Regions from separate parts of the Homo sapiens genome. Here all the other regions are linked to region 7. The links are contacts of gene promoters, found by promoter capture Hi-C in blood cells and fetal thymus (Javierre and others, 2016). All regions are on one chromosome and are shown on one strand. The core of a region is centred on a gene start or on the middle of the fragment in contact, and the rest is flanking DNA. Distances in the headings are between cores, read along the strand shown.

Region 1 (3,668 bases), core at 702-3,201, 2.5 Mb after region 7:
AAGCCTGGGTTCATATAGTGCTCCCTCTTAGTCTAACTTGCTATAAATTTTACCTGAACAATAGAAGAGCTATTTGCAGAGTCTCTGGAGGAACATATTGCAACCATAAATATTAATGATAATGAACCTGGAAAGACCAGCTTAATAAAATAGCTGAAAATGAATTTATACATCATTAGCATTATGAGCTCCCAAATCTTCATCTCTGAACAGCTGGACTATCCCAGTAGAGGATGAGCAGGAACCCACGTAGATCTCCAGAGCGGTGCCTCCTGCAGACCCTTTTACTGGGTATGTTCTGGCTTTTGAAATACATTACCTATTCTCTTCTAAAGCCAAAATTACTACAGACTAAGGCTGGACACTTTGTCTCCCCTCTTGGTCTTTGAAAAATTACAATTATCCCCAATTTGTGTTTGATATGGGGCAAAATATCTCCACTCTTTTCGTGTTAGAAAATAATGTAATGTCCTTGAAATGGAAACTATCACGTGTAGGTGAAATGCCTATAGATATTCATTCAACCAATATTTGGTCTTATATTCTTTGTTGAAAAAAAAAGACAAGAAAGGCCGGGCGCGGTATCTCATGCCTGTAATCCCAGCACTTTGGGAGGCCGAGGCAGATGGATCACCTGAGGTCAGGAGTTACCAGCCCTGCCAACATGGTAAAACCCCGTTTCTACTAAAAATACAAAAATTAGCTGGGTGTGGTGGCAGGCGACTATAATCCCAGCTACTCAGGAGGCTGAGGCTGGAGAATTGCTTGAACCAAGGAGGCAGAAGTTGCAGTGAACCATTGCACTCCAGCCTGGGCAACAAGAGTGAAACTCTGTCTCAAAACAAAACAAACAAACAAAAACACAGGAAAACATGGATCATATGTGGGGCATAACAGTTTTCAGAGAGGTATAATCTCTTCTAATGGGGGACTTACAAATATAAGTTGGTCTCTCAAATCCTGAGAATCATAGGGCTAGAAGGCTCCCTTAACATAAAAGCATCTCTAATAATGGAAACTCAGGCATTCCCTGAGCAGTTTGGACTACATAAGGTTCAAAGTCTTCTCTGGTATGTTTCTTGTCCAAGATTTGACATAGAGGGTTAGCCGTGCACCCAGCCATTCCTTGAACCCATAGAAGAGAACACTGAATCTTCTTACTTCCTCCTGGCTTCTTACCCCAGGAAACCTACATTCTGTATTTCCCTTCAGCATATATGGTTTCAAGACTCCCTCTATAGATGTCACCAGCCTAGAACACTCCTGCCACAAACAGAATTGATTTTAAAATTCTCTCTCTTTGGTCAACTTTACAACTTGAGACACAATACGATACAGCTGAGAGAACATGACATCTGGGGCCTGACTCTATGACTTACTAGCAGAGCCAACAACTTTGAACCTCAGTTTTCCTGTCTACAAATGTGAAGAATGTCCACCCACAGCAGCCTTGAATTCTGAACTATACAGGCCAGTATAGATGCCAATTACTGTTATTAATAATAGCAATAGTGGCAAAATACAAGTTTACCACAATACAAGCTATTTAATGCATCTCACTGCGGCCTCTTCTCATCTTTAATTGTAAATATTAATAGGTTTACAGAGTGGTGATCCTGTGGGGCACAGTTTTGTGTAATCCCTTTCCTTTTCATTTGGTTAGCATTTCCACATTCCCAACCATAATTCATATTGATGTGTAATACCCAAATGCAGTTTCATCAGGTTGGTCAGTGGTAAAGACGTGGTCCAGGTGAGGCCAATGAGAGATGTTTCCTTAGTATTTAGATGTGGAAGACAGAGAGAAAATTTCCATGTGGCTTGACCTGTGCAGGAAAACACAGGTGCTGGGGGTAGCCGTGTGCTCCACATGGGAGTAGCAGAAAAAACCAGTTCTGAGAAGAAAAGAATGCTGCAGTTGTGCATTGTGACATGGAACGAGAGGTACAGTGTTCATTCCAGGGGCTCCCTGCAGTTTTCTGGTCCTCAGCTGCATTTTGGCACTTGGATTCTATGTGGCAGCCCTGAGGTCTTACAATAAGTCTTCCATTTTGTGTACACTGCCAGAGTAGGTTTCTGTTGCCTGAAACCAAAAAGACTTTAACCAACAATTTTGGGCTATATTTGGGTCGCCCCTGGCTGTTTTAATCAGACACAGTGGAGGAAGCGGAGCCAGCTCAGGAAGTGAGCATTAATCAGAGGCTCTGAGCAATGGGGTCATGGTCACTCCCTCCCTAGCTTCCAATATGGCCAGTCAGGAGGACAGGGCACTAATGGGCCTGTCAGGAGGTGGACTCTGGGGGACAGAGAGACACTGAGGTGTCACTCTCACTGGGGAGCAGGGACTTTAGTTTATTTCCACCTGATGAGTGGCATCTGCCTTTGTCATTGGCTACAAAAAGAATGGGCCACCTGGACTCTGGGCAGGTGCATTTCCGAAGCAGCACTCCAGGTGTCCGAGAGCGTCTGGAGTGGTGGAGATCCACACACTAGAAAAAAGGGATAAAGTACAGTATGGAATAACATGACTTCCTACTCTCCCCTGTTTCCAGAAGGCAGTGAGGTACAGAAGAAAGGACACTTTTTTATAGCCAGACAGGTCTGTCTTTGGCTCACAGCCCGGCCATCAATAGTAAAAATAACAAGAAGAACAGCAGCGGCAACAGCTAACATTTGTTGATCATTTACTATGTGACAGGCACATTAAATCCTCACAACAGTCTCATTTTACAGATAAGAACACCAAGGCATAGAAAAGTTTCACAGATTGCCCAAGGTCAATCAAGCTCTTAAATGTCAAAGGAGGCACCCAAACCCCAATACTTGACTCCAGCACACACTGGTAGCCACTCCTTTACATGGCATATTCACCAGACAGCTGGCAAGGAAATTAACCTCTCTGACCTCAGAATCCTCACCTGTAAAATACTGGCCGTGAATCCTGCACTGTAGGTTGTTAGGAGACTAAAAAAAAATCATAGAAAGCATCTGACATTTTGTAGATGTTCAACAATTATTGCTATTATCATCATCACCATCATCAATGCTATCTGGAGAACCAATAAGTGCTGAGAGATGACCACCATGGCTGTTATGTTATCACTGTAAATATAATCAATATCATAATTTTGACACTTAACAATATCTGATGGGGTTCACCTGACAGAGAAGTTACTCCTAATCTTTTCATCAAAGCCCCTCAGATCTCCAGCAACCAACCATCCATATGGATCAACAGGATTTCAGATCACCATTCCATTCATGGAACATCCTCATATCTGGAATTGCCAAAAGGATTAACTTTCCCATCGAGAATACATCTACTATTCTGTGTGTTCACCAAGCCTACACTTTATCCCATTATGTCTACACATAAAACTAGTTTGTTCTATGATTTATCCTCCTCCCACTGTCTATACTTATAACCAGTTTGAAACATTCCTTCTTCCCCTGTCCCCATTCTGCCTATACATATAGCCAGCTTTTCTATTTTGTCTAGATTGGTTGACTAATTCAATCCATCAGACTGATTTTCTGTTCTGTATTGACTAACTACATTGACTCAACAATCAAGAGAAGGTGAATTGGTTGTGCTTTTTTTTTTTTTTTTTTTTTTTTTTTGAGACGGAGTCTCGCTCTGCCACCCAGGCTGGAGTGCAGTGGCGCGA
Region 2 (3,475 bases), core at 123-2,622, 2.6 Mb after region 7:
GCTTCTGAGTCAGCCCAAGGAGAAGGAATGTATAAAATGTATCAATCCAGTGAAAAGCATTAAAAGGTCAGAAAATAGGAATGAGAGAGGGAACAGAGAACAAGAATGGGTAAAAATAAAATGCTACCTAAAATAGGAGAAATAATCCAAATATCTCAATAATTACATTATTCTGTGAACATATTAAACTCATATTAAAAGACAGAGATAATCACACTGGATAAAATAATAAAGATGTGTGTAAGATTTCCTGAGGAGAAACTCTGAGACAGAAAGAGGGATCTCAACTCAGCAAAGAGGGGAAGAAAAACTGCCCAATCAATAGAGAAATGCCAGAAGGATCCCAGGGGAATCAAGAAATGGTGCACAGTGGTCTACATGCAGCAACAAAAGGTGTCAGGGAATTCACTGCAGTGTGCAAGACACAGAAGGAAAGATAGAAACTTGTCATTAAAGATACAGGGGCAGCTGCCCCTGAGCTAGGGGTAAGCTGTCTGAGAGGGCAGGAAGTGGAGGGCTGGGGTTGGGGTGAGGCCACAGAGCCTGAGACAGACAAGGACAGACCGTAGGGCACTTCTACCATGCAAATAAGTTTTCAGAAAACACAGCCACTCCTGGCAGGGCACAGGAACCATGTCCAAGTTCTCCACCAAGAACATTTCAAACCCCAGGTACAGAACACCACCACATTCCCTTCAGGCCTGGAGGAAGGGAGGAAAAGTTTAGACAGATCGCTGAAGGATGCTATCCCCAATTGAGGGATACATTATCCATTCTGGTTCCTCACTTAACACAGCCATCCTCAGAAACCAGGGTGGCTCCTTGATTATTATGGGCAGCTGGAGTAGAAGTGATCTACACCTGCCCCCACAACAGTGTGAAATGGAGACTCCAAGTGTCACTTTGGCATATTCCCCAGAGTCCTTTCTCTCAACTATGCAATACTCACAAGTTGCTGAGTGCCTACTATGGGATTCACACAGGTTGTCTCATTCCATCCTCATCACGACCCTGTAGGACACTGTTTACATCCCCATTTTAAGGATGAGAAAACCAAAACCCAAGGCCATGCCACTGGGAAGTGCCAGCATGAGGGTCAAACTCCAGCATCTTGACCAAGCTTGATGCTGGATTCGAGCATCAAGACACTGAAACTAGCCCTGGTCTCAGGCCCTCTTCATGGTGTTGGCTCTGATGGATGTTCTGCTTTTGTTTTCCAGAGCCTAGTCTTTGCTGAACAAAGGAGGAAAGAAAATGTGGATGCCACATCTGATTCCTGTGTCATGTGATGCTTTACCAAGCAGAGCTCATTTCACTATGTTATCATCATCCATACACCTGCTTGAAGACCCTACCAGACTGTGGCCTCTTGAGGGATAAGCCTGAGATGTATTCACCTGTGTGTCTGCAACACAGAGCGCAGTGCCTAGAGGACACCGCATGCTTAACCCAGTGTTCATCCAATGACTGCATGAGCAAACAATCAGGTGGGGGAACTCACTCCAGCAATCACAACATACCCCACGCCAAATTCTTAATAATGTTCCTAGTATGTTCCTAGTGGTGCATTCCGTATTCACCTCACTCACAGATCATGAAGTCTCCATGTGTCAAACATGCTTGCAAAGCTTTGTATTGGCCTCATACGTGAAAACACTTGTTTTCTGCAATCCAGTTGATCTCACACCTAGATGACTAACTCGTATTTATATCACATCTGGCGCTCTGAGTGAGATCCCACCTCTCAAAGACACCCAAGGAGAGAACACAGCGTGAGTGCTATGAATTTTCCTTCCATTGCAAACAAAATAGTAACACCTTGTGTGGCTTGAGACATCAGAACACAGAAGGAAGTTAGTGAGACCAGAGTCATTCTCCCTCCTGGAGAAAGCACCCTTCCTCCCTTCCCCACTTGCTAAAAGTCCCCTACTTTTTGATGGAGCTCCAGGGATATCTCTTCTGCACATTCTTCCAGAGCAGTGCATCTCTCTTCTGGTTGTTTGTACACCCTTCTTTTACTCTCCTTATTATCCTCTCCCATGTTCATTCAGTACATACTTAGTGAGTGTTCACCAGATGCTTAGCACCTGGGGTATACGGATGGGCAGAACCAGACATGGATCTGCCTTCAAAGAGCTTACAGTCTGATTCAGAACTTCCTGCAATGATGAAAATGTTCAATATCTGCATTGTCTAATACAGTAGGTGGAATCCACATATGGCTATTGAAATTTTAATTTTTTAATTTTAACTAATTGAAATATAACTCTAACCACCTGTGGCTGATGGCTACCGTACTGGACAGTGAAGGGAATCACACTGTAGGAAAATCATCATGGATACCTTCCACATCTTGACAAGGATTTTCTCAAATGTCTGGCTCCCTCCTCACCACCAGATGGATTCTTAAAGGCAAGGGCTGTTTTAGTTATTCATATACCTTCAGAACCAGCGGAGGCCCAGCACAAAGAACGACACAAGTCATTCTTTGTTGAATAAATGAATGAGTGAATAAATGAATAAACACTAGACTTACAATGGAGGACCTACAGAAGTTCTTACCTCTTGATCAAAAGACATAGGGGAAAAAAGCAAGAGGCTGGAAGATAGGATAAAAAAATTGTGGTGTTGGGGGTCTCCTTCTAGCCCCCTAAAAGACACAGGTGCAAAGCACTTTCCTTCCAGTCCATTCTCCCCAGTGTTCCAATCACTCTTATCATCTTGGGGAGCAGATACAATTAACAGAGAGAACAGACCAACCCAGGGGGAGTTCAGCTTGAGCACTTCCGGTCATCAATCATGTCAGGAGGTGAGGTGGAGGGGAGAGTTAAATAAAAGAGAAGACTCATCAGTTCTACAGTTGAGTGGAACCAAAAGCCCCTAGTCCCATGTACAGAATCCTTGCTCTCAGGACCTGAATGCAATAGCAGGGCTCAAATTCACAGGTGCATTCAAGAAAAAAAAAAATCTTAGCCACAGTTAACTGTCATCTGGCATGTTAAAATTATGCCAGATAAAATCCATACACTTCGAATTTTAAGAAAGTTTAGGTTCTCAGATTATCTAATCACTACATCCAACACCTCTAAGTAATCTTATGATGTTCACTGTCAGATGTCTAAATTTTTTTTTTCTTTTGAGACAGAGTTTCATTCTTCTTGCCCAGGCTGGAGTGCAGTGGCATGATCTTGGCTCACTGCAACCTCCGCATCCTGGGTTCAAGTGATTCTCCTGCCTCAGCTTCCCAAGTAGCTAGAATTACAGGCACCCACCACCACACCCAGCTAATTTTTGTATTTCTAGTAGAGACAGGGTTTCACCATGTTGCCCAGACTGGTCTCGAATTCCTGAGCTCAGGCAATCCACCACCTTGGCCTCCCAAAGTGCTGGGATTAGAGGTGTGAGCCACTATGCCCCGCCTAAATGTTTAAAGCATTCAGCAGTGTAAAGCATGAATTCAAAATACAAAACTAAC
Region 3 (3,936 bases), core at 1,287-3,786, 2.5 Mb before region 7:
AAGAGATTCGAATTTGAAAGAAGGAAAACCAGAAGTTTCATACTTCTAAAGGAAAACGTTTTCAGAAAATGAGTGAAAAGGAGTGACTACAAAGGAAGCATTCGCTTATCTCAAAGCAAATACTAAATTACAGATTCCTCTCAGCGCTCTACTGGTGAAAAAATTTAAAAATAAATAAATAAATTACAGACAGTAACATGCTTCCATTTCATCCCGACAGCTTCAGGATGGCGCAGTCTCCAATGGGACAAACCCAGGGAGGCGTGACTCGGCCACAGCGCGTTCTGGGAAGGCCGCTTAACCAATCAGCGCCTTGGTTTCCAGGGGTCAGGTCTGCATAAAAATGCTGCCCTTTCCGTTCCTATAGTGGTGTGATGCAGAAACGCCGCGACAGAATGGGGTTATCTACATTAACAGCGCGCGGCCTTCCAGGCTCCTAAATGGACTTTCACAAACACCCTCCATCAGGCCAGGCCCGCGGGTGTGACCCGGGCAGACACAGGCTGCCCCCACACTTCTGGACTCTGTGTCAGGGCGCACACGCTGACAGCATGGCTAACTTTCTGGGGGCCGGGGACATCTGGGAGAAGCAGAATGAAACAGAAGATCGATTCCCTAGGTCCTAGGAGATGAAACGCCACCTTTGCGGGTTCGCGAGTCCTTAGGATCAAAGCTGGGCTCCCCAGGGCCGGGGCCGCTCGCCCCACATCCTCATTCCAGTCCCCATCCCCACCCTATCCCCGACTCTGCCCCAGGCCCAGGCGGGAACCACGCACCGAAACGAGCGGGACGCGCAGGCGATCCCCTTGCAGCCGGTTGAAGGCGGGGAACGTGCTCCAGGCGAGGAACCCGTCGCTTTCGGGTCCGAGCAGGGCCACGAGCAGCACCTGGTGTTGGAAGCGCACGGTCGGCTGCTCCTCGTAGCTGCTCCGCTTCAGCCAAAACCCTGAGTTAAAGAGGGCGGTAGGGAGGCGGTTAGGGAGGCCGGCCCTGGCCGAGCGCGCCCGGGGAGCCTCGTGGCACAGCGGCCGGGGCAGGCTCACCGTGGCTCCGGAAGGCCACCAGCAGCGGCGGGATGTACGTGAGCGCAGCGGCCAGCAGCAGGAACAGCGCGGCTTTGGAGCAGAGCCCCGCGCGGTAACTGCGCTCGACCGGGTGAGAGAAGAGCTCATAGAGCGCCATGAGCACCGCTCGCAGGCACTCCGCGAGCCGGGGGACCAAGTTTGGCTTCTCCTGGTTGCCATCGCCTCGGTCTCCACGGCAACCGACGGCTCACAGAAAGGAGCCAATAGCAAGGCCGCACCGAAAGGAGCCAGTGGCGGGGGCGGGGTTAGCGGGCGTGGCGCTGCCGGGGACGGTCGGCCTAGCTTTTCGAGCTGTGTACGTTTGCGTAAAGGCTGGGCGGCGATAGAACGTTTCCGTGGACCAGAGTCGTGGCTGTTGTCTGTGTTAACATTTGTGTAAAATAAGATGCCCATAAAAGTTGACTTGAACACTGAGGAGGAAGAACTAAATATTTAAATTTCAACTGACATGGACACAAACAATGGTCACCAAGTCCCTAAACAGGTTGTGGGAGCCCCTTGAGGCGTTCATCCAGCGCTGTTTCGGAGAAATCTCTATTTCAGTCTACTCCTATACGTCAGTTATTGAAAAACAACAATCGCAAAAACAAGTTGACCTTTTTGTGTTCCTTGAGCCCAGTCGCAAAGGGCCCTCGTGACTGGGCCTCATGCTAGACAACATGTTACAAAAAGATCTAGGGTCCCAGACCACGCCAAAAAGCTTCATGAGACCTCTCCTCGTCTGTGCACTGACGAGTGGCCGGCTCTGGAGCCCAGGTCGTTGCTTCCCAGTCTGGAGGTGAATCCTCCATAGTCTGGTGAGTGTAAATATATATATATATATGTCTTTTTCCTTCTCCTCTTCCCATTGCAATTTGCTTATTATATCAATCTGCTTATTATATTAATTTGCTTATTATAATATCTGCATTGCCATTTACGTGGGATAAAGCTTGCTTACCCTTAAAGGTACTGTGTGTGTGCCTTTTCTTCTCCCCTAGCGCGTCTCCCGCACAGAACGAACACCTGCTTTTGTGTCATCTGTTAACCCCCAGTGTGGTTCCTACTGAAGTCCAGTCAGTCACAAGCCTGGCCGTGGTCCTGGACCTGGTCCTGGGCTGAGATCAAAGCCAGGTGCTTTTGCCCCCAGATTTTCTGTTGCTTCCACTATGCTCCCATGCAAGACAGACACGGAAACACAAATCCCCTGGCTCTTCCACGGATAGAGTGGAATTACTACAAAGCTCTGATGCACTTCGTTAACCCTGTGTTGGGTACAGCTCAGCCGCGAGTTTTACAGGAATATATGGTCCTCCCCAAAGATCACTGGCTTATTGCTTAATTGAATGCCTACACCCCCCCGCCACCACCCCCAACCAATATTTCTAACATGGTAGAAGGACTTTTTAAAAAAATCTATGGTCCACAGCCAATTTCTTCATCAAATGGCCCTGAATGGCTGGGCACGGTGGCTCACGCCTGTAATCCCAACACTTTGGGAGGCCAAGGTGGGCGGATCACCTGAGGTCAGGGGTTCAAGACCAGCCTGGCCAACATGGTGAACCCTCATCTCTACTAAAAATACAAAAATTAGCCAGGCATGGTGATGGGCACCTGTAATCCCAGCTACTCTGGAGGCTGAGGCAGGAGAATCGCTTGAACCCGGGAGGCACAGATTACAGTGAGCGGAGATCACACATTGGACTCCAGCCTGGGTGGCAGCGAGACTCCATCTCAAACAACAACAACAACAACAAAAAGGTCCTGAGTGGCTGAGCACAGTGGCTCATGCCTGTAGGTCCAGCTACTCGGGAGGCCTGGGCAGGAGGAAGGCTTGAGCCCAGGAGGCTGCAGTGAGCCATGAATGCACTACTGCACTCCAGGCTGGGAGACAGAAGGAGACCTTGTCTCTAAAAAAATAAATACAAAATATTTAAATATAAGTAAATTTGTTAAAGGGTCAGTAAAATGACATTTAAGTGGAAAGACATGATAAGCTTTGTGATTTGGAAAAGTCACTCTAATGACAGCATGTCAGTAGTGTAAACCAAAATGTATCTGAGACAAGTCTCAATCAACGTAGAAATTTATTTTGCCAAGGTTAAGGACATGCCTGTGACACAGCCTCAGGAGGTCCTGATGACATACGCCCAAGGTGGATAGGGTATAACTTGAGTTTATACATTTAGGGAGACATAAGACATCAATCAATACGTGTAAGATGTACATTGGTTCAGTACTGAAAGATGAGACAAGTGGAGGTGGGGTGGGGCTTCCAGACCACAGAATTGGCAGATTCAGAGATTTTTCCAATTGTCAACTGGTTATTATCTAAAGACCTGGAATCAATAGAAAGGAATGTGTGGGTTTGTGGGCGGGGCACAGTGGCTCACGCCTGTAATCCCAACACTTTGGGAGGCCAAGGCAGGCAGATCACTTGAGGTCAGGAGTTCAAGACCAGCCTGGCCAACATGGTGAAACCCTGTCTCTACCAAAAATATGTATTAAAAAAAAAAACATTAGCTGCATCTGGCGGTGTCCACCTGTAATCCCAGCTACTTGGGAGGCTGAGGCAGGAGAATTGCTTTAACCCGGGAGGCAGCAGCTGCAGTGAGCCGAGATCATACCACTGCACTTCAGCCTGGGTGACAAAGTGAGACTCCATTTCAAAAAAAAAACAAAAACAAAAAACAATAAGGGGTTGTGGAGTCTAATGTTTTATCATGCAGATGAAGCCTCCAGGCTTCAGAGAGAACAGATTGTAAATGTTTCTTATCAGACTTTAAGAGTCTGTTCTATTAATATCAGTCTTAAGATCTATGTGTTGATGCTAATACTGGTCAGCTGGGTCTGAATTCCAAAAAGAGGAGGG
Region 4 (3,457 bases), core at 954-3,453, 2.6 Mb after region 7:
CAGCCCAAATGTCCAACAATGATAGATTGGATTAAGAAAATGTGGCACATATACACCATGGAATACTATGCAGCCATAAAAAATGATGAGTTCACGTCCTTTGTAGGGACATGGATGAAACTGGAAATCATCATTCTCAGTAAACTATCGCAAGAACAAAAAACCAAACACTGCATATTCTCACTCATAGGTGGGAACTGAACAATGAGAACACATGGACACAGGAAGGGGAACATCACACTCTGGGGACTGTTGTGGGGTGGGGGGAGGGGGGAGGGATAGCATTGGGAGATATACCTAATGCTAGATGACGAGTTAGTGGGTGCATTGTGCCAGCATGTCACATGTATACATATGTAACTAACCTGCACATTGTACACATGTACCCTAAAACTTAAAGTATAATAATAAAAATATATAAATAAATAAATAAATAAACAAACAAGGAGGGTGTCAAAGAAGTACATCCTGTACCACCAAGCACTCCTGACCCTCCCCCAGTCACAAAATGTCTCTGTCAGTAATCAGGGCTTGGGGAAATTCTACTGCCTGGAATCCAGCTGGGCCGTGGTATAGAGGCCAGCTCTATAGTTAAATTTGCAGTCAAATTGCCTGAGTTTCTCTCCTAATTCCAACCTGGACACTTGTAACCTCGGTCTCCACCTCTGTAAAATGGGTAGAAAAACTACCTCTCACGACTGCCATGAGGATCACACAAGGTACTTTGGAAACTCCAAGGCCTCATCTCAGGGAAGTACTTATACTCTAAAACTTTCAACCTTACAGCTTTTCATTTCACAAACTTTCTCTTTACAAAGTCTTATGAATGCCAACTCCAGGTGCAGAGCACAAGCACTTCAAGTTTCCTCAATACCACCACCTGGCAGGCACAACACCATCTGCATTTTCATCTCCGCCATCTTGGAGCTCATTAGTCTAGAGCAGTAGTTCTGAAACTGGGCTCACTGGACCAATAGCAGCATCTAGGAACTTCTGCTGGAGGTGCAGATTCTCAGGCTCCACACTACACCTACTAAATCAGAATGCTGAAGGTACACCCAACAGTCTGTGTTTCAACATGCCCTCCAAGGGATTCTGACGCCGGATCCATGTTTGGGAGCCCCTAGATTCTCAAAAGCCATAGGCCACTTCCCATTGCTTGCGCTTAGTTTCCAACTGCCTTTAAAACATGGTTATCCATTATAATCAATAAAGGGAAAAATGATAATCATGTTGAAAGAGTGAGTAGGAAGAGATAAACAAATGTTCTAGAAGTGAAAGCTGAGACGATTTTAAAAGATCAATGGAGAGAAAATGGCAAATGTTGCGTGTGTGTGTTGTGTGGAATGACTCGTTCAATGGTAGAGATAATTCTGCAAACACTGAATCATGCAATGTGTGAGATGCAACGTCTGTGCAGCAGACAACAGTCATCAAGATGCAAGGAAAGGATCTTAAACGTCCTTTCAGAAATGTGGACATGGGGCCACAAGACTGGCATCAACAGTGATGCTCATCACCTTCCTGGTAATTTGGAGAACGCTGCAAGTCTTTATGCTATTCTAGGGCTCAAAGAGAAACGATGGCTCCTAGTTAGGGACGTTTCACAGAGTAAAGGCTCGTGTGAATCCATAGAACACTGATGCTTTGGCCTGTTTAGACGAGTGCTAAGCAGTTCACCAAGGCAGAACCACAGCAAGGGTTAGCAAACCCACCAGCTTTTCTGTACCGATGAAACTCGCGTAGTTTTAGAAAAAAGAGAGAGATGCCTAGTAGAAACTGCAAGCAAGGCAGAGAAACTATGACAGGTTTTAAAACTTTGAAGGACCAGATCACATTCCTTCTCACAAGCTTCAAATCCAGGGAGTAAAGATGGATCTACCAACAGATGGATCTATGAACCATCTCTTACGACCAAACACATCTGCTGGAGCTCCTGTACACACCTGTGGCTGTTACAATTCAGCATGAACGTGCAGAACCCACCCCTCCAGCCCCCTGAGATCCTGATTCATTCAACTGGGATACAGCCCGTTTTAACAAGCTCCCCAAGAGATACTGAGGCAGATGGGCCCCGGACCACAAAGCCAGTACTCATTATCAGAGAAGACTCAGAATCAAGAGCAGTGTAGAACTGCTGCACACGCCCCACAAACACTGCTGGGGAAAAAGCGCAGTCTGAAACCAAAACACCACCCGCCGGAGCCCCAATTTAGCATTTGTTCCACAGTAGATCAGGGAAGTCAGCAGTAAATGAGTAACATGTTACATAAGTTGCTGTTCTGTATGCAGAACCTTAACTCACCAAAGAGAAGCTAAAACCATATAAAAAGCAACAGCCCACCCCCAAAACAAATGCTGTGCAACTGCAGCCAGGATCCCCCAACCCCTTCTGCTGGGCTAAGATGAGCCCTCCTTTGTGCTGCAAACCCCCAGTGCTCACCCTTGGGCCCCTGGAGACTGGATCCTTTAGTCCAGATAAGGGAAGGTGAGGTTAGGGAAGAGGGTAGAAGGAGGACATTCAGGGCTACGTGGGCCTGAACACTGGCTTCAGCAAAGCTTCCCTCTGGCTGAAAACACACATGGAAACACGTTTTGCTGGACTACACCTCTGGCCTGTTGCTGAAAAATTCTGGAACCACGGCATCCCCTGTCTTGGGTCTTGTCCAGGAACCTCAAACCACTCTCTTCAACACTCTCCTTCTCTCTCAAGCAAGGATTCTCAGTCTTTTCCTCTTCCCAGTTCCCCCAGACCTGGCTAACAAGCTAGTTCTGACTAGAAGGTGAAAGGCTGATGGTGGCTGGGACAATTATCACACGAGTGACCACAGAAGACGTCATTGTGGGTATGGTGAAGCCATGCACATGTATGTAATATGTGTTACTCCTTCCATGGAGCCAGCCTCGGGCGCCTTCTCAGCATGGGGCCAGAGGCCGGCATTCCAACTTCCTGGCAAGTTTCAGAGGGAAGCTATAAGTTTCAGAGGGAAAAGTCCATACCTATCTCTTCATTACTCTACTTCAAGCACCCAGCATGGTGAATAACTCTTAGGAAGTCATAAAAAAAAATCAGTATTGAATTGAATTAAATTGACACCTGATGTGAAACTTCAAGGTCCCACCCCCCACACATTTGGCCACAAAGCTCATCTCAAAATGCGGTAGAGTCACCCAGGAAGTTTGTTAACAAGTCCATCTCCTGGGCTCCACCCTAGACTTAGGAAATCAGATTCCATGGGATCTGCATCTCTCATCAGTTGCCAGATAATCTAATACATGCAGAATCTGAGAACCAGTGCCTTAACCTTACGGGCACCAGTGCTATGGGATGTGATTAAGCAAAAGGGCCCTTTTGAAACAGACAAAACAGAACAAAATAGAGGCCAGCATTGGCTCAAGTGGGAGTAGAGAACACACAACGTCAGGCAAATATGAGGAAGATAAGAGATCAGAGAGA
Region 5 (3,883 bases), core at 185-2,684, 2.5 Mb before region 7:
AAGCTTCCCAGTAGAAGATGAGCTTGTGATAGACATAGCTAAGCACTGTAAAACCAAACTGAAGGCCGGGCGCGGTGGCTCACCTGAGGTCAGGAGTTCGAGGCCAGCCTGGCCAACGTGGTGAAACCCTGTCTCTACTGAAAATACAAAAAAATTAGCCGGGCGTGATGGCGCGTGCCTGTAGTCCCAGCTACTCGGGAGGCTGAGGCAGGAGAATCGCTTGAACCCGGGAGGCGGAGGTCGCAATGAGCCGAGATTGTGCCACTGCACTCCAGGCTGGGTGACAGAGCGAGACTCCCTCTCAAAAAAACAAAAAAGGCTTTCCTGAGCTCCAGTGCATGCAGCTTTTGAAAGATGGTATTGTTATGAATCCCCTGCAGCGCAACGTGCAGGCTCGCTACTGTAGTGAATGCTACTGGTAAATCAGACCACAGTGATTTAAAACAAAAATCTGCAGGAAGTGAGACCCTGTGACTTGAAAGTCAGAGGGCCAGGGCAAGCCTTGTCAAGAAAAGAAAGCATGAGATCCTAGAATCCTCGTTTGGAAGGGACTCACCTCTCATTTCTAGGGAGGCATCACAAGGCAGTATAGTTTATGAAGACCACCTGGCCATCGACCTGAAATTAAACCAGAGGTGCAATTCACAAACCTCGATAGGCAAGGCAGGTAGAAGTTGCCAGAAGAAACAGTGACTCTCTTTAAGATGAAGCAGCCCAGAACGGCATCATCTCACTCAGGTAGTGCGTCTGAATGAGCATGCACAATTGTTTAAATGAATAAATGTTTTGCTACACTGGGTCCATTATAATTCGAGCCTACACCCCCTCCTAGATCTTGAAAACTTGAAGAACTTCTTAGCTGAAAATAACAGCTCAGCTAAACAGGCATTTATTTGCCCACAAGACCGCATCTCTGAACAGTTTCAACAAGCTAAAAAAACTGACGTCCTTTCCAAAGAAAAGGAAGTCGGCTGCCAGGGGAGAAAAGGCTTCAGCGATGCTTGGAGGAAGGGACTCTGGTTTACGCTGGCTCCCTTCCTAAACACTTCCGGAAGCAGAGCCCCTTCCCGGCCGCTGGAGAAGCCTGGGTGGGACCCCGAGTCGGCCAGTTACAGGATAGGAGGTGCCAGGCAAGGCACTGAAGCCATGCAGTGAGAACAGCGTGAGCGCCTGATCCATTGGGTCCTGCGGCTGCCAGGCCAGAGGCCCCGCGCCAGGAGCTCTTCAGGCGCCGGCTGCTGACAGTTCCAGGCGTGGAGCGCCTTCCCACGTGAAACGCGTCCCGGAAGATACGATCCTCACAACCTCTTCCCTCAAAAACAGACTCGGCAAAGTTAGCCCGGATAAACCTGCCCCGTCGCCCCAGCGCCTCGCGGACGCTCCCCTCCCACCTTCAGGAAACGCGCCTAGAAGAAAGCGAGCTTAATCCGCCGGTAAGGCGGACGTGACGTCACAAAGCGCCGGTTCCTTTCGGCTCCCGCTCCCAGAGGCGCGCAGTGCATGCCGGGCCCTGTAGTTTTTCCGGGGAGTCGGTGCCAGGGCCGAGATTCCCGCGCTTCAAGTCCCGCAGCCCTGGCTGCGTCTTAGAGAGGCGTGAAACCGGATGATGGGAGCCGCTTGTTGGCTTAGATATTCCTTCAACTAGAATGACGTATCTTGCAGCACTCGGCTGAATTTTTTTCTTTTTCTTTTTTTTTTTTGAGACGGAGTCTTGCTCTGTTGCTCAGGCTGGAGTGTAGAGGCGCGATCTCGGCTCACTGCAACCTTCGCCTCCCGGTTCAAGCGATTCTCCTGACTATGCTGTATTTCTATCTGTAACATCACTGTCCAATAGATATATAATTCGAACCATATACGTAATTTAAAAATTTCCAGTAGCCTCATTAAAAGTCAAAATAGAAACAATCATATATATTTTATTTAACCCATACATCCCAAATAGTATTATTTCAACATATAATCAAAAAATTTTTTGAGATGGAGTCTCGCTTTGTCGCCCAGGCTGGAAGCGGCGCAATTTCGGCGCACTGCAACCTCCGTCTCCTGGCTTCAAGCGATTCTCCTGCCTCAGCCTCCCAAGTAGCTGGGATTACAGGCGCCCGCCATCACACCCGGCTCATTTTTGTTATTTTTAGTAGAGACGGGGTTTCGCCATGTTACCAGGCTGGTCTCGAACTCCTGACCTCAAGTGATCCGCCCGCCTCAACCTCCCAGAGTGCTGGGATTACAGGCGTGAGTCACGATGCCCGGGGTCGGTCTGTCTGTCTCATATATATATATATATATATTTTTTTTTTTTTTTTTTTTTTTTTTGAGACGGAGTCTCGCTCTGTCACCCAGGCTGGAGTGCAGTGGCGCAATCTCTGCTCACTGCAAGCTCCGCCTCCCAGGTTCACGCCATTCTCCTGCCTCAGCCTCGCGAGTAGCTGGGACTACAGGTGCCTGCCACCACGTCAGGCTAATTTTTGTATTTTTAGTAGATACGGGGTTTCACCATGTTAGCCAGGATGGTCTCGATCTCCTGACCTCGTGATCTGCCCGCCTCGGCCTCCCAAAGTGCTGGATTACAGGCGTGAGCCACCGCACCTGGCTGCCGAGTCTCAATATTTTAAAAAATACTTATGTTCTGTTCTGTTTTTAATGCGAAGTTTAAGAAATCTGGTGTGTGTTACACTTAGAATACATCCCAATTTGGATCAGCCACATTTCAGATGCTGGATAGTCACATGTGGCTACTGGCTACTGTAGTACAGTACTACTACAGTGTAGTGGGCAGAACAGGTCTAAAAACCTTTGGATTGCCGGGAATAAGTAATATAGCTGCCTGGATACTTCAGGGGCCTTTGTCACCCAGTAACTGAATGCTCTATTACTAAAAATGAAAGAATTCATTTTTCTTTGTTACCCCTCAAAAATTTATGCAACTTGCTCAACCCCATCCTTCTCTCTAGTTCAAAGGAAATGGGACATGGCCCTCCTCCAAGGCCAAAGACTTTGCTCCTCATTCCTCTCCAATATCTTTAATCTGCAAGTGACTGCCTCTTCTGTCTTTTAAGAAATATTCCAGTGGGGGTAAGGGGTATCAAAGACCTTCTTCTAGGGTTCTTTATCTCAGGGATTGGTATTACTAGCAATCTAGTTGCGTAACTAAAAAGTGAGTCATGTTCCTTGTTATCTCCCTTCCCTTAATCCCCTTAGTGCAATCCATTACCAAGTCCTGTTGATCTTACTTCCTATCTCTTGAATCCATCCATTTCTCTCCACTTGCATGCCAATACGCTAGTAAAAGCCACTATCGTATTCCTCTTGGATTGCTACACTCATCTCTGAATTTCCACCTTTTCTTGCTTAACTCCAATTCATTTTCCACAGAGCAGCAAGACTAATCTTTTCAAACTGCAAATCTGGTGTCAGATTTGTGACTACTACACATTTACTGCTTAAATAATACTTCAGTGAATGCCTTCTCGGTACTTTTTTTTTTTTTGAGATGGAGTCTCACTCTCCTACCCAGGCTGTAACGCAGTGGCACAATCTCGGCTCACTGCAACCTCCGCCTCCCAGGGGCAAGCAATTCTACCTCAGCCTCCCCAGTAGCTGGGATTACAGGCACATGCCACAACACCCGGCTGATTTTTGTATTTTTAGTAGAGACGGGGTTTCACCCTGTTGGTCAGTCTGGTCTCAAACTCCAGACCTCAAGTGATCCGCCTGCCTTGACCTCCCAAAGTGCTGGGATTACAGGCGTGAGCCACCATGCCCGACTGGCTTCCCAGTACTCTTAAAATACAGACAAAAATCCCATAGTAGTGCTCACAGTCCTGCATGGCCAGCCCCTTCCTGCCTCACCTGGTGCCATATTTCTTTGGGCTTCTATACTCTC
Region 6 (3,695 bases), core at 345-2,844, 2.5 Mb before region 7:
TAAACTTCGACAATTTCTCTTATACTTTTTCTAAGATATTTGAAGCACAAAGCCAGGGACACAAAAGGAAACATCAGGCCAGGGGTGGTGGCTCAGGCTCACGCCTGTCATCCCAGCACTTTGGGAGGCCAAGGTGGGCGGATCACAAGGTAACGAGATTGAGACCATCCTGCCCAACATGGTGAAACCCTGTCTCTACTAAAAATACAAAAATTGGCCAGCCATGGTGGCACACGCCTGTAATCCCAGCTACTCGGGAGGCTGAGGCAGGAGAATCGCTTGAACCCTGGCAGCGAAGGTTGCAGTGAGCTGAGATCGCGCCACTGCACTCCAGCCTGGCGACAGAGCGAGACTCCATCTTAAAAAAAAAAAAAAAGAAACATCATTTCTCTTTTCTTTTTCATTCAGGGTCTGGCTCCGTCTCAGTAACTCCTTGGGGAAAGCGATGGAGAAGGGCTCGCTCACGCAGCACTTCTGGCAGTCCCTGAAGGACCACTACCTCAAGTCTCCCAGGCTGGAGTGCAGTGGCACGACTTCAGCACACTGCAACCTCCGCCTCCTGGGTTAAAGCGATTCTCCTGCCTCAGTCTCCCGAGTAGCTGGGATAACAAGTGCGCGCCACGGGGATTAAGCCCTCTCGTATGCCTCTGGAATGGTACTATGTACCATCTTCCTAGCAATGATAAAACACTCAATTACCTGTGTTCTGTGGTTCAAATGGGGAACGCTAATGAGAATATAAGACAGCCAGTTAAAGGGTGGCTAATCCTGACTTATCTATGTTAACCTACATACTCCAGGGATTTGGGAGTGGTTAACAAAGATATCAGGCTGAATTAAGATGGTCTCTACTGTTAGACGTTGATCACTTAATACTCACAGGTATCTACTGAATAACCCATACGGGTAGATGCATGACAGTTTTAGAACTGATCCCTTTTAATACATAACGTTCAGAATGACCTTAGTGAGGCCCAGAAAATTTTGAAGGTCTTTCTGAAAAGCTAGGGTATTTAACATTTCTCCAACTTCCACGTTTACTGAGTGGCTCAACAAAAGAATGCATTTCTCAGAAAGGAGGATGAAGCTAAGCAGGAAGTTTCGCTTTTCTTTTCTGATAACTCTTAGTTCTCGTCCTAGTTCCTCCTCCACAGTCTCTTAACTCTAGGAGTATGATAGGGAGCATCCCGCCGGTGCCAGCTGGGAACGGGGAGCCGGCGTGCCCGGGGTATCCCGGGGTACGTGGTCTGCAGGGCGCAGCCACCACGTCTCAGCATGTGCGTACCCACGAGAGCCGGCAAGAAGGCCCCGGCACAGCAGCCTTGGTGGGAACCTCGCGGCGCTTCCCAGCCCAGACTCTCCTACCGCAAAGGCTTTAAAGACTCGCAGCGACACTCACTTCTTGCTCAGTTTCGGCTCGCTGCCATCCACTTTCACCTCGGCCGCCTGCACGGCCGCCATCTTCCCGGAGGGCCCGACCCAAAAGTAAGGAGGATAGTACGTTAATTTCCAGGTCAAGGTGCGAAGCCCCACCTCTTCCGGGGGAGAGGGGGCGGGCACTCTCGATGCGCCGCGGCTGCTGCTGCGCAGGCCCAGTGCTGCGCTTCGCGGCAGAGGCGTCTGCGGTGACAGCTCAGTCAGTTGAGCTCTGTGTGCCAGGCGCTCGCGAGGGGGTAGCTCTTCTAGTAGTGCTCGGCGTCAGACATGGCGGAGGCGATGGATTTGGGCAAAGACCCCAACGGGCCCACCCATTCCTCGACTCTGTTCGTGAGGGACGACGGCAGCTCCATGTCCTTCTACGTGCGGCCCAGCCCGGCCAAGCGTCGGCTGTCGACGCTCATCCTGCACGGCGGCGGCACCGTGTGCCGAGTGCAGGAGCCCGGGGCCGTGCTGCTGGCCCAGCCCGGGGAGGCGCTGGCCGAGGCCTCGGGTGATTTCATCTCCACGCAGTACATCCTGGACTGCGTGGAGCGCAACGAGAGGCTGGAGCTGGAGGCCTATCGGCTGGGCCCCGCCTCGGCGGCGGACACCGGCTCGGAAGCAAAGCCCGGGGCCCTGGCCGAGGGCGCCGCGGAGCCGGAGCCGCAGCGGCACGCCGGGCGGATCGCCTTCACGGATGCGGACGACGTAGCCATCCTTACCTACGTGAAGGAAAATGCCCGCTCGCCCAGCTCCGTCACCGGTAACGCCTTGTGGAAAGCGATGGAGAAGAGCTCGCTCACGCAGCACTCGTGGCAGTCCCTGAAGGACCGCTACCTCAAGCACCTGCGGGGCCAGGAGCATAAGTACCTGCTGGGGGACGCGCCGGTGAGCCCCTCCTCCCAGAAGCTCAAGCGGAAGGCGGAGGAGGACCCGGAGGCCGCGGATAGCGGGGGTGAGGAGGCTGAGCGCGGGGCCTCGCGGATATCTGCGCGGGTGGGGTTGGGATCTTTCTCCTGGCTGCCTGGCGTCCATCTTGGCATCTTCGGTAGCAGCGCTTGGCCCCGCCCCCTGTTGACATCCGGGTAAATTTGCACCATTTTCTTGCCTTCTCGCTCCCTTGTTGTTTATTATTGTTCTTTTTTTGCGATGGGTCTCTGTTACCTAAGCTGGTCTGAACTCCTGAGCTCAAGCGATCCTCCTGCCTCGGCCACCCAAAGTGTTGGGATTACAGGAGTGAGCCACCACGTCTGGCCTCTCGTCGTTTTTATTTTTTAATTTTTGAGTGGGGGCTCGCTCCGTCGCCCAGGCTGTGATGCAGCCGCGCGATCACGACCTACTGCATCCTGGACCTCCTGGGCTCAAGCGAATCTCCGGCTTCAGCCTCCCAAGTAGCTGGAACTACACTCCCGCGCCACCACGTCCCGCTAAATTAAAAAAAAAATTGTTGTAGAGATGGGGGTCTCGTTGTGTTGCCCTGACAGGTCTCGAACTCTTGGGCTCAAGCGATCCTCCCGTCTCGGTGTCCCAAAGTGTTGGGATTACAGGCGTGAGCCATCACACCCAGCTTCTTGGTCTAGTTTTAATTTACTTTACCATTGACTAGAATATTGACATGGTTCTATATTCAAAAGTTACAAAAAGTATATAGAAAATTCTCTCTTGGCCGGGCGCGGCGGCTCAAGCTTGTAATCCCAGCACTTTGGGAGGCCGAGGCGGGCGGATCACCTGAGGTAAGGAGATCGAGACGAGCCTGACCAACATGGCGAAATGCCGCCCCTACTAAAAATACAAAAATTAGCCGGCCGTGGCGGAGAGTTCCTGTAGTCCCAGCTACTCAGGAGGCTGAGGCAGGAGAATTGCTTGAACCCGGGGGGCGGAGGTTGCAGTGAGCCGAGACTGCGCCACTGCTCTCCAGCGTGGGTGACAGAGCAAGACTCCATCTCAAAAAAAAAAAAAAATTATCTCGTCCTTCCTGTCCACCAGCTACCCACGGGCTAACTGGCTTCTTGTGTTTCTTTTAAGAGATATTCCACAGACTCCTTTTTAAAAAAGATTGCTGTTATGTTCAGGTAGATTCAGTATAAAGGCGTACCAGACTTACTTTAATGCTCTGGCGTAACTGAATGCCTATGGACTTAAGAAGGTTCTCGGCAGTTGGAAGGTCTCTTCCTGGTCTTGCTTAGGTGAAGTGAGTTTTTAATGCAGTTGAATTGAAAATTGGGGTTCAGTATGTCTAGGATACAGAACGAGTCTGTTAAGATGTACTTGGTGAC
Region 7 (3,900 bases), core at 1-2,500:
TTTTATTTTCCTTCCTTCCTTCCTTCCTTCCTTCCTTCCTTCCTTCCTTCCTTCCTTCCTTCCTTCCTCCCTCCCTCCCTCCCTCCCTCCCTTTCTTTCCAGATTCTGGACCTATTCCAGACTTACTAAAGGAAATTCTCTAAAGGTGAGGCAGTTTTTTAAAGACAGCAGCTCTCTCTGTCGTCCATGCTGGAGTGCAGTGGCCCGATCATAGCTCACTGCAGCCTCGACTTCTTGGGCTCAAGTGATCCTCCCCCTTCAGCCTCAATGAGTAGCTGGGACTACCGATGTGCACTACCACGCCCGGCAAACTAAAAAAATAATTATTTTTGGTAAAGACAGGGGTCTTGCGATGTTGCCCAGGCTGTTCTCAAACTCCTGGCCTCAAGTGATCCTCCTGCCTCAGCCTCCTAATGTGTTTGGATTACAGGCATGAGCCACTGAGCCCGGCCTAGCTACCCTGTCTGAGTTGTGCCCACTACACAAAGGTGTCAGCTACATGTGATGTCTGTGCATTTCTGGCCTGGACCGCACATTAAGTGCTCCGTAAACATCAGTCTCTATTATCAACAGTCTCTATTATCAATCAGTCTCTATTATCATCAGTCTCTATTATCATGAGTCTCTATTAAACAACAGTCTCTATTATCACAGTCTCTATTATGTGTTTTGGCTGAAAGAAAGTTCTCTAAAACCAGGAAATCAGGAATCAGCAGTTTTAAGTTCTCCAGGTTATATTTTAACATTGTGTTCATATGCAAAACAAAGGTTGTGAATCAGCACGAATGCTGGCAAGCCCTGGAAGGTTTGTGATCACGGACTTTCACGAGACCCCAAGGCAAGGAGAGACAGAAGCCCAGGACAACAGCATGGGCGCCGCTTTTTAGTCGGGCGCCGCTTTTTGGTCAGGCGCCACCTGGACTACATTTCCCATATCCAATTGCCGGGCTCCTGCAGGATTGGCCAGAACAACGCGGAAGTGATTACGGGTCGCCCAGCAACGGGCGGAGTCCTGGCCCGAAACTGGATGCGCACGCCCCTTCCCTGCGGCGGGGAGGCTGACAAGGCTCCGCTCTATCTCTAGCGCCTCGGAGCGCTCTCCGGCTTTGCTGTCTAGCCCGGCGGCAGCGCGATCTCTTAGGCACTTTCACCGCCTTCCTCTCCAGGCCCTGCCCCTTTGACGCCGGCCGTCGCGATATTGCGGAGACTGGATTTCAGCTTCGTGGTCGGCGGAGCGGCCCCTGGAGGGCGCAGTGCGCAGGCGTGAGCGGTCGGGCCCCGACGCGCGCGGGTCTCGTTTGGAGCGGGAGTGAGTTCCTGAGCGAGTGGACCCGGCAGCGGGCGATAGGGGGGCCAGGTGCCTCCACAGTCAGCCATGGCAGCGCTGCGCTACGCGGGGCTGGACGACACGGACAGTGAGGACGAGCTGCCTCCGGGCTGGGAGGAGAGAACCACCAAGGACGGCTGGGTTTACTACGCCAAGTAAGGGGGCCGCAGTGGGGCCGCGGACGCACCTGGGACCCTGCACAGCCCACGGACGCCACCTGCGCGGGGAGGACGCGCACTCCAGCGCAGCGCGTGCGGTGCAAAGTGAAAGTAACTGTTAAGGAGCTTCAGGGAAAAGGGTCCAGGGTTCCCAGTAGGGGCCGGCCCCCTTGGTGGGCCTCGGGTCCAGCGGGGGTCACCTGGTGGCTTCCCGGCGCGCCCTCTGCTGTTCAGGATGCAGCACTGCGCGGCGCGGCGAGGGCAAAGCGGCCTCATCCCCGCCAAAAAATAAAGATGTTTTAAAAAGCGCACATGCTCAGCTCCCTCCTGCAGGCTCTGGGTTGCAGGGATAGGAGTTTTGTTGTGTTTTGTTTTGTTTTGTCCAGACCGGTATTGCTCAGTCATCCAGGCTGGAGTGCAGGGGTGCCATCATAGCCCACTGTAGCCTCTACCTACTGGGTTCAGACAATCCTCTCATCTCAGCCTCTTGAGTGGCTGGGACTACAAGCGTGCACTACTATGCCCGACTAATTTTTTAAGTATTTGTAGAGACTAGGGTCGCACCATGTTGCCCAGGCTGGTCTCGAACTACTGGGCTCAAGCAGGCCACCTGCCTCAGCCTCCAGAATTGAGATTACAGGCGTGAGCCACTGCGCCTAGCCAGGAGTATTTTTTAGTAGCAGTCCTAGATAGCTTCACTATCATTTCCTGGGAAAGTTTTGGAAACCCCAGCAGAGCCTTCATCTTTAACTGTGTGACCTTGGGCCATTGAAATAACGTTTAATCTTGGTTTTTTCACCTGTAAAATGGGTTGATACGAGGGTCAGTTCAGGCACTGTGCGTAAAGCACATAGCACCGTGTCTAGTAGGTACTCTCTGTTCCTTAACTGTCGTTCCTTGATTGCTCTTAAGATACGACAGTGCCTCTTATATCGGCACCTTAGAATCACCTAGGAAATGTCCTAAATACACGTTTTGGGTCTCCATAGAGAACCTACTGTAGCCGACTCTCAACTTTGGGAGTCTCTTTTTTTAAGCTTTCCAGGTGAGGTGGAATATCACCTGGTTTTGAGAAACATGGATGTAAATCTGATTTTCAGCATCTGGGAAACTTTTTTTGTAAGAGCCTTTTTCTGGGCCCCACTTCCAGAGGGTTTTTCTTTTTTTTTTTTCTTTTGAGACGGAGTCTTGCTCTGTCGCCCAGGCTGGAGTGCAGCGGCGCGATCTCGGCTCACTGCAGCCTCCGCCTCCCGGGTTCACGCCATTCTCCTGCCTCAGCCTCCCGAGTAGCTGGGACTACAGGCGCCCGCCACCACGCCCGGCTAAGTTTTTGTGTTTTTAGTAGAGACGGGGTTTCACCGTGTTAGCCAGGATGGTCTCGATCTCCTGACCTCGTGATCCTCCCGCCTCGGCCTCTCAAAGTGCTGGGATTACAGGCGTGAGCTACCGCTCCCGGCCTTTTTTTTTTTTTTTTTAAAGACAGGGTCTCGCTCCGTCGCCCAAACTGGAGTGCCGTGGTGCGATCTCGGTTCACTGCAACCTCTGCATGCCGAGTTCAAGCGATTCTCGTGTCTCAGCCTCCCGAATAGCTGGGATTACAGGCGCCCGCCACCAGGCCTGGCTAATTTCGCGCTGTTGGCCCGGCTGGTCTCCAACTCCTGGCCTCAAGTGATCCGCCCACCTCGGCCCCCCAAAGTGTTGGCATTACAGACAGGAGCCACTGCGTCAGCCCAGAATTTCTGATTTAATTGGTTTGGCCCCTCCCCTCTCCCTTGGTAGGTTGTAAAATCTTCCCTCCCAGGTGATTCTAATCTATGCAAGGATGTGAACCACTGCTGCCTTTGGTGGCAAGGTAGAGGAAAAACAACCAAGTTCTGATGAGTTCATTCAAGACACACACAGGTATTATGTGACAGGCCTTTGGCTGGCACTGGTTATACCGAGGCAAATAAGAGCCAGTTGTCATCCTTAGGACCCAATCTTATTAGGGCACAGTGACATGTGTAGGAGCGTCCCCACGCAGTGTGTATACCAGGAAGTAGTGTGTCTGGCATGAGGTGTGTGTAGGTAGTTGGGGGGGTCGTGAGGGAATATGGTGGCACCCTCACAGTAACCTTCACTTCCTGGGCTCAAGCGATCCTCCCGCATCAGCCTGTTGAGTACCCGGGACCACAGGTGTGTGCCTCCACACCCAGCTAATTATTACATGTTTTGTAGAAATGGGGTCTCACCATGTTGCCCAGGCTGGTTTGAACTCCTGAACTCAAGCCAGCCTCCCTCCCGAAGCACTGGAATCACAGGCCTGAGGCACTGTGCCAAGCCCAGAGCGGTGTTTTGAGCTCAAGTAGAGGTGGGTGGGGCAGGAGGGCAGTCTAGGTAGAGGGAACAGTGAGAGGAGAGACCCCCTGCATGGCC

What was found. Contacts are between HindIII fragments. The CHiCAGO score rates a contact against its expected background, and 5 or more counts as called.
Region 1: a contact is called between a fragment that was not itself captured here and the fragment with the promoter of WWOX in region 7, in 7 of 17 cell types (total CD8 T cells, activated CD4 T cells, naive CD8 T cells and 4 more). The highest score is 9.6, in total CD8 T cells.
Region 2: a fragment that was not itself captured here is called in contact with the fragment with the promoter of WWOX in region 7 in 1 of 17 cell types (total CD8 T cells); the score reaches 5.8 in total CD8 T cells.
Region 3: a fragment that was not itself captured here is called in contact with the fragment with the promoter of WWOX in region 7 in 1 of 17 cell types (monocytes); the score reaches 6.1 in monocytes.
Region 4: a fragment that was not itself captured here is called in contact with the fragment with the promoter of WWOX in region 7 in 3 of 17 cell types (total B cells, naive B cells and non-activated CD4 T cells); the score reaches 9.5 in total B cells.
Region 5: the fragment with the promoter of ADAT1 here is called in contact with the fragment with the promoter of WWOX in region 7 in 1 of 17 cell types (monocytes); the score reaches 5.8 in monocytes.
Region 6: a contact is called between the fragment with the promoter of TERF2IP here and the fragment with the promoter of WWOX in region 7, in 15 of 17 cell types (naive CD4 T cells, total CD8 T cells, activated CD4 T cells and 12 more). The highest score is 35.6, in naive CD4 T cells.

What each region holds. Positions count from the first base shown.
Region 1 is chr16:80,554,610-80,558,277 of GRCh38, forward strand. The region is part of intron 1 of DYNLRB2-AS1 (DYNLRB2 antisense RNA 1); the gene reads right to left. Among named protein-coding and RNA genes, the nearest start is that of DYNLRB2-AS1, 6.7 kb to the right of the region's middle. The HindIII fragment of the contact is 3,952 bases long and covers 1-3,668 here.
Region 2 is chr16:80,660,472-80,663,946 of GRCh38, forward strand. The region is part of intron 2 of CDYL2 (chromodomain Y like 2); the gene reads right to left. Among named protein-coding and RNA genes, the nearest start is that of LINC01227, 89 kb to the left of the region's middle. The HindIII fragment of the contact is 508 bases long and covers 1,119-1,626 here.
Region 3 is chr16:75,555,028-75,558,963 of GRCh38, forward strand. TMEM231 (transmembrane protein 231) reads right to left here and starts at 1,225. Exons shown (of 7, transcript NM_001077418.3): 1 at 1,044-1,225; 2 at 777-946. The coding sequence starts at 1,182. RefSeq lists silencers at 916-995, 1,286-1,395 and enhancers at 1,436-1,515, 1,546-1,655. The HindIII fragment of the contact is 1,045 bases long and covers 2,015-3,059 here.
Region 4 is chr16:80,678,857-80,682,313 of GRCh38, forward strand. All of the region lies in intron 2 of CDYL2 (chromodomain Y like 2), which reads right to left. Among named protein-coding and RNA genes, the nearest start is that of LINC01227, 110 kb to the left of the region's middle. The HindIII fragment of the contact is 708 bases long and covers 1,850-2,557 here.
Region 5 is chr16:75,621,847-75,625,729 of GRCh38, forward strand. It overlaps ADAT1 (adenosine deaminase tRNA specific 1), which reads right to left and starts at 1,435. Exons shown (of 10, transcript NM_001324445.2): 1 at 557-1,435. RefSeq lists enhancers at 1-188, 189-708, 709-1,228, 1,110-1,349, 1,229-1,748. The HindIII fragment of the contact is 8,287 bases long and covers 2-3,883 here.
Region 6 is chr16:75,646,179-75,649,873 of GRCh38, forward strand. TERF2IP (TERF2 interacting protein) reads left to right here and starts at 1,595. Exons shown (of 3, transcript NM_018975.4): 1 at 1,595-2,374. The coding sequence starts at 1,705. It overlaps KARS1 (lysyl-tRNA synthetase 1), which reads right to left and starts at 1,487. Exons shown (of 14, transcript NM_005548.3): 1 at 1,400-1,487. The coding sequence starts at 1,461. RefSeq lists enhancers at 1,340-1,519, 1,559-2,516, 2,450-2,719, 2,517-3,472 and a silencer at 2,020-2,139. The HindIII fragment of the contact is 3,802 bases long and covers 1-3,102 here.
Region 7 is chr16:78,098,404-78,102,303 of GRCh38, forward strand. WWOX (WW domain containing oxidoreductase) reads left to right here and starts at 1,251. Exons shown (of 9, transcript NM_016373.4): 1 at 1,251-1,482. The coding sequence starts at 1,376. RefSeq lists an enhancer at 1,485-1,984. The HindIII fragment of the contact is 3,217 bases long and covers 1-2,520 here.